Regions from separate parts of the Homo sapiens genome. Here region 2 is linked to region 1. Evidence: promoter capture Hi-C in 16 types of primary human blood cells and fetal thymus (Javierre and others, 2016). All regions are on one chromosome and are shown on one strand. Each heading gives the region's core, a stretch centred on a gene start or on the middle of the fragment in contact. The rest is flanking DNA. Distances are from core to core; before and after follow the strand shown.

What was found. The method cuts DNA at HindIII sites, captures the fragments that hold promoters and counts their contacts. A CHiCAGO score of 5 or more calls a contact.
Region 2: a contact is called between a fragment that was not itself captured here and the fragment with the promoter of GUCY1B1 in region 1, in 1 of 17 cell types (megakaryocytes). The highest score is 5.1, in megakaryocytes.

The regions. Positions count from the first base shown.
Region 1 is chr4:155,757,517-155,760,544 of GRCh38, reverse strand. GUCY1B1 (guanylate cyclase 1 soluble subunit beta 1) reads right to left here and starts at 1,524. Exons shown (of 14, transcript NM_000857.5): 1 at 1,402-1,524; 2 at 685-758. The coding sequence starts at 1,404. LOC105377506 (a long non-coding RNA gene) reads left to right here and starts at 2,130. Exons shown (of 8, transcript XR_007058484.1): 1 at 2,130-2,355. RefSeq lists silencers at 477-746, 1,197-1,346. The HindIII fragment of the contact is 7,462 bases long and covers 1-3,028 here.
Region 2 is chr4:155,703,014-155,706,313 of GRCh38, reverse strand. It overlaps GUCY1A1 (guanylate cyclase 1 soluble subunit alpha 1), which reads right to left. Exons shown (of 10, transcript NM_001130682.3): 4 at 2,321-2,382. Among named protein-coding and RNA genes, the nearest start is that of GUCY1A1, 38 kb to the right of the region's middle. The HindIII fragment of the contact is 2,697 bases long and covers 445-3,141 here.

The DNA of each region.
Region 1 (3,028 bases), core at 275-2,774:
CCGTTCACATCCCCAGTACTGGGCTCAAAGCTCCAGGACTGAAAGTAGAATGCCTCCTAGAACTGTTAAGTCTTCAACACAGTAGAAAAAAACGGGGGATAGGGGTTGGGGCGGGGGGGGTGGGCAGTGGGATTTGGGGAAAACAAAAAACTTCCAATTTTCACTTTATTTAAAAATGAATAAATGCGCTTAATTCACTGTTGCTCAAGAAATAATCTCCCGCGTGTTTCAGCATACCAAAAAGGCCTAACTTACGCCAGGTGTGTAAATCATAAAGGAGCCAAAGTCTTCCGTTTGTTTCTAAGGCCTCCGGGCGCAGGAACCTCGCGGAGGCCCGTGTGGTCCCTCGGGGCTCTGCACGCGTGGGAGCTGCCCGGCCTGCTGAGCCTGGGAGCGCCGGCAGCGCGTTCCCACGCTCAGGCCGGGTCGGGAAGCCGTGGTGACCCCTAGGGGCTCCTTTCCGCGGTTCTCGCCCTCGCAGCCCCGCCCCAGCCGCCCCTCCCCTCCTGGTTCCAGTCCCGGAGCGTGGGAGCGCAGCTGCAGCGAGCCGGGAGCGAGGCGCGGAGGCACCTCCAAGGATGCGCGCCCGCGACCCGGCCAGCAGGCTGAGGACCAGGCGAGGCGCGGGGGGCCTCCCACACTGGGCGCCGACCTGGGCCACAGCCAGGGTAGCCGGCCACTTACTTGATGTCTTCCCACACCTCGGGGCCGTAATTGCGGATCACCAGCAACTCCAGGGCGTGATTCACAAATCCGTACTGCGGGGACAGGGAGAGACTTGAGCGTCAGGGACCCGCTGTACCTGAGAAGCGGCTTGGGGGCGAGGCTGCTGCCTCTGCTCCCATGGCGCTGGCTTAACCTTTCACCCCGCCCCTGACTCCTCTCCCTTAGGGGTACTATGCACTAAAGGAGTCGGATCGTGGGGGCGCAACCCCCCAATCCCTGGTGGATTCTCCCCGTCACCATCCGCCCCACCCCCACGCTATCTTCCCACCCTCCTCACCTGTCACCGCTCCGGGAGAGGCTGGGCATCGGGGGCAGCGCGGGGACGCGAACCCGGAGCCTTCCCTTCCGCTGGCGCTCAGCCTCCCACACTGGTGGGGCCGGCCAGAGCCGGGAAGACCCCACGCCTCCGCCGCACCTCCCCTTCCCGAGCTCAGGAAGCTGCGGTGTGGAGCGGCAAACCCGCCTGGGAAGCAAAGGCACCGATCGCCCCCGCCACGACTCGCGGCGTTCCCACCTCCCCTGACTGGGCGCGGGCAAGGAGTGAGGCTGCTCCCGTGGCCGGCAGTGAGCGCCCAGGGCCCCCGAGCCAAGCTCCGGCTGCGCGGCCAGTTCCCTCGCTGCCAGGCCGGCCGAGGAGGGGTGAGGTTCGGGCCGCACCCGGCTGAGAGCACTTACCATGGTGTCTGCACCGGGAGCCGGGGAGGCAGCCCCCACGCAGAGGTACGGCCGAAGGGACCCAGGCAGAGGCGGCAGCGGCTACAGCGCAACCGGGCCGGGGAGGCAGCATCGAGCTGGAGCGAGAACAGCCGCCTTGGCCCGCCCTGATTGCCACCTCTTCCCAGCCAATGGCGAGTCGAGCCGCAGGGGGCTGGTCGGTGCTCCCCAGTTCTTCAACCAATCAGGGACAGAGGAGGGAATTCGGATGCTCTCAATGCTGCTGCGCTCCAGTGCCTTCCCGCCCCCGCCTGGTGACAAGGCCTTCATTTGAGGCCATAACAATGACAGTGGAGAAGCCCCAGCCGTGCTCCTTGCATGAATTCTGGAGCAGAGGAAATGCAGCTCTTGTGGACCCACTAAATGTATTATTATTCAGAGATCTGCCCTCAGTGGTTAACACAAGCAAAAGGGAACAGGGCGTGTTTGTTGTGTGAGCGTGTACGTGTGTACTTTGCAATGGACAGACCTTAAAAGGAATATCCTCTGTTGCTGGCATCCTCATGCTTATCTTTGTCTAGCGGAAAAACATTTCCTCTGTGGCTTGGTCCCACAACAGTTTATGGCAAATTTAAAGCTGGTAATATTGAGAAAAACATATTTTCACTTCTAGTCAATGAGACTAGTTGAGTGAAGCACCAAAAATTTTCAGTAATGTAGTTTGGTGGACGTTATGTTAAATCCAGTCCTGCCCTTTACTAAACTGTACAAGATCCAGCGATATTCTAGGCTTGATCCCTGTGGGACACCTTTCCCTACACCATGTCCGGGAGCCATAATTCCAGGGAGTTTGTAACCCTCTAGAGCGGGCCTCTGTTGCTGTTTCTTAGCAACAGACGAACTGGAAAATGACCAGTACAAAATGCACAGACTTTAACTACTCTACCTCCAGCTTACATTCTACCAGGCCCTTAGGTTAGTTAATGCTCTGAGTCCTGCCATAGAGAGAAGATGAGAGGAACAGGAAGTGGCAGCTTATTAAAGCTGTTTGTACCTGAGGTATATGGACTCCAGTTGACTTTTAGGGCAAGGTCAAAAGTGAGGTCACCAGTCTCAAGTGGACCTGAGAAGCCAGATGGTATTTTAAGATGTGCATATTTTGTTGTGAGAACAGTCTCAATATGGTTAGAGAAAAATGTCAAAACAATAAGATTGTGCTGACATCAGCACCGAGAGAGCTATGATGAAGGAAACTGATACAGAAATAGTGGCATGTAGCAAACAAACAAAACAACAAATTACTTTAAAAATTTCCATTATTGGTGGAATGAGTAAATAGATTACAGCCTTTCATACAATCTAACACCTTGTTTTAAACAACTATTAAAACATTAATCATTATTTAACAACAATTAACCACTAATTTTGAACCATTAAAATGGCACATTAAACAACCATGAAAAAGCAGGAGGGTGACTAGAAAATGATGATGCAGAAAAGTATTGTCAGGTTTACAAAACACCACAAGAATGTAATCATTTTCCATTTTTTAGAGTTAGTATACAGTAAGGTGCTATGTGGGTAATAACACAGGCACATACATGTTGCTGTAAGAATAATGGTTTGGGAGGAAACACAGGAAGTGTTG
Region 2 (3,300 bases), core at 544-3,043, 54 kb after region 1:
AACTAAAAAAGCACAGAGGAACCACTTAACATATCAGCAGGCAGGCTTATGAGCAAAAATCTTGTTTCAACAACTGAATAGTTCTCATCAAGAAAATTTAAAAGTATAATCAGATTTCTTTTTTTTATATTTAGGGACATCAGGGAAGTGGTAAACAAAAATTTCAAAATTTCAAAAAAATAATTATTGTTGGCTTAAGTTTTGAGATTATTTTAAGAGGCACACTGCTGGAAACACATCATAACTGAGTATTGCAAGAAGCTGTAGGAACGATTCAGAACACAAAGCCCTGAGAATAAATTTTGAGTAAACTGGCTGCCAAGGACTTAAGCAGACAGACACAGTAGCACAGTGAGAGACTTAAGACTATCTTATCAGCTTGACTGGTTATTAAGGTCAGAGGTGTTCTGGAATGCTTCTCATGTTACTCGTGTAAACAAAGCTTCTGTCAGACACATAGATTCACACTCTTTCCTTCTGGACCTGTCCATGACCCCTTCTTGGCTTGGTCCTGCTGCCTGCAGTCTGGGACCAGCTAGTCAGCAAGGAAAATCAAGCACATATGATCCACAGAGCAGATGATCACTCATGAGTAGGAGACAGATGAATGAATTGTTAAAACATTCCTGACAATAGTGCTGGTTTGTAAAACTCCAATGTTCAGTTCTGCAAATTTCAACACCAGTATTTATTCTATTATTTATAGACCAAATAAACCTTGAAATTTCAGGGAATCAAAAACGGGGCCTATTACTTTTTTTTTTTTTTTTTTTTGAGATGGAGTCTCACTCTGTCGCCCAGGCTGGAGTGCAGTGGCACAATCTTGGCTCACTGCAACCTCTGTCTCCTGGGTTCAGGCCATTCTCCTGCCTGATTAGCTGGGATTACAGGCATCTGCCACCATGCCTGGCTAATTTTTGTGTTTTTAGTAGAGACGGGGTTTCGCCATGTTGGCCAGTCTGGTCTCGAACTCCTGACCGCAGGTGATCTGTCTACCTTGACCTCCCAAAGGGCTGGGATTTGCCACCGTGCCTGGCCCCTATTACATTTTCTGTCAGCAGTAAATGTGCTAAATTGTATTTGATTCACTAAATAAATCAGATTTAAAAAATGTAACTTTAGAGACAAGGCGCAGTGGCGCATGCCTGTAATCCTAGCAGTTTTGGAGGCCAACGCGGGTGAATGCTTGAGCTCATGAGTTTGAGACCAGCCTGAGCAACACGGTGAAACCCCATCTCTACAAAACAAAAACCAAAACAAAAATTAGGTGAGCATGGTGGCACATGCCTGTAGTCCCAGCTGCTCGAGAGGTTGATGTGGGAAAATGGCTTGAGCCAGGGAGGCAGAGGTTGTAGTGAGCCAAGATTGCACTGCACTCCAGCCTAGGCGACAGAGCAAGACCCTGTCTCAAAAAAATAAAAATAAATTTTAAAAAAGTAACTTTAGGTCCATGCCCTTAATCTCAGTTTTTTGGGAGGCTGAGGCAGAAGGATGGCCTGAGCCCAGGAGTTCTGGGCAGCAGTGAGCTATGATCACACCACTGCATTCAGCCTGGATGACAGAGTGAGACCCTGTTTCTAAAAAAAAAATAAAAAATAAAAAGTAACTTTATATTAAGCCTCTTCAGAAATGCTTTAAAGGAAAATTTCAAAGAATACTAGAAAAAAAGTATAAACAAACTGATGTTCTGCAGTGCAACCAAACTAGTTAGGAGAATACAGAAACACTTCCCTAAGGATTAATAAACAGCTGCTACCCCCCGGAACCCTGAGTCCCCCTCCTCTTAAGCACTTGATCCTTCTACCTCCTCCTGATGCAGATACTAAAGTATTAACATGTTGTTGAGATGTGTGTTGGGGATGGGGTACCTGCTGGGACCCTGCTCAAAACTTTGGCAGCATCCTTCAGGCAGGAAGTCTTGATTGTTTGGGATCCATGACTTACCTGTTGTTAAATATTTTAGAAGTTACCAATTAGTACAAAAGAATCGGCCTTACAGGAGCTTGTTAAAGCAGCAGTTTATAACTACATGCTTAAAATAATGGCTCTGAAAAACCCAGGCTCGAACCCCAGCTCTGTCTTTTCCTTAAACGGCTATAAAATTCTAAATACTTCATATAAACCTGAGTTTAATCATTTATAAAATGTGATAAATAGATGCACTTACTTTGAAATTAGTATCAGCTAAAGTACTAAGTCCAGTTTCTGACATACCACAATGATTCAATAAAGGGCTGACACATTCAGTAACTGCTGGCCATTAGTAGCAGTATTAGTCATTGTAATAAGAGGTTCACACAACTAAAGTGGTTTGACTTACCTGCTTTCTTTTATTTTGTGCTTTGCCAATGTTCTCTGAAGTGCAACATTCAGCCGTTCAAACTGAAAGTTCAAAAGAAATGTTTTAAACATTCCCTTATATAATAATTTGTTTGGAATTATATATTTAAAAATGCATCCTGAAGATTTATTTTCGAGAATAAAGCACATTATACAATTGCTTGAATGATAAATGTTATGAATTTTCACTTTGGAAACTGGAAGTGATTTTCTATGTGTTTTTCAAACTGGAGAGGAAGCAATGTGCTGAGACTAATCTGAGATTGGATATGTGTTGTGGCCCACAGGTTTAGCCTTTGGTGGTGGTCTCACTGACAGCCACAGAATAGTTGAGCTGAGTGTGAACCCAAACAGAAGATTTCAGTTTGGTAGTGTTAGGTCTTCTGCAATATAGGATTCCATGGGCATCACTTCCTCTGAGTCAGGAAATCCCTCTGGACGGGCGGCCAATACTTCAATCTCAGCATGGACCAAGCCAAGCAAATTTCTGTTCCTTTCACAAACTCCACACCCAGCTGCCCCAGTGACTCTCTGCCCTTAACTATACATTCATATCATCTTCTTGTCTAGCAAACTCTGGAGTTATCTCTGTCTCTTCCTTTTTTGATCTCTTAAATCTAATCTGTCACCAAAGTTAGTTGATCATTTATTTGAAATGAGCCTTGGGTTTACCTTGGCTTACACTGATTTCCTTTCTTTGAACTAATAATCCTCATCAAATACTTATGGTTTTATTTTCTTTTATTGATTTCTGAGAATTTCATGAGTTTCCTTATTTTGCAAGACATTTGTATGTAAGCTTTTATACTTAATAAATACATGTTGAGTAGCTATTAATTTATCTTAACAGCTGATTGTCTCTAATAAATAAGTGGAAAGTAGAGCATTGATAAGCAGTGTTGTCCATTTTTATATATTCCATGTAAAAATCATATGTATCTATGTATGTACCTCCCTCTC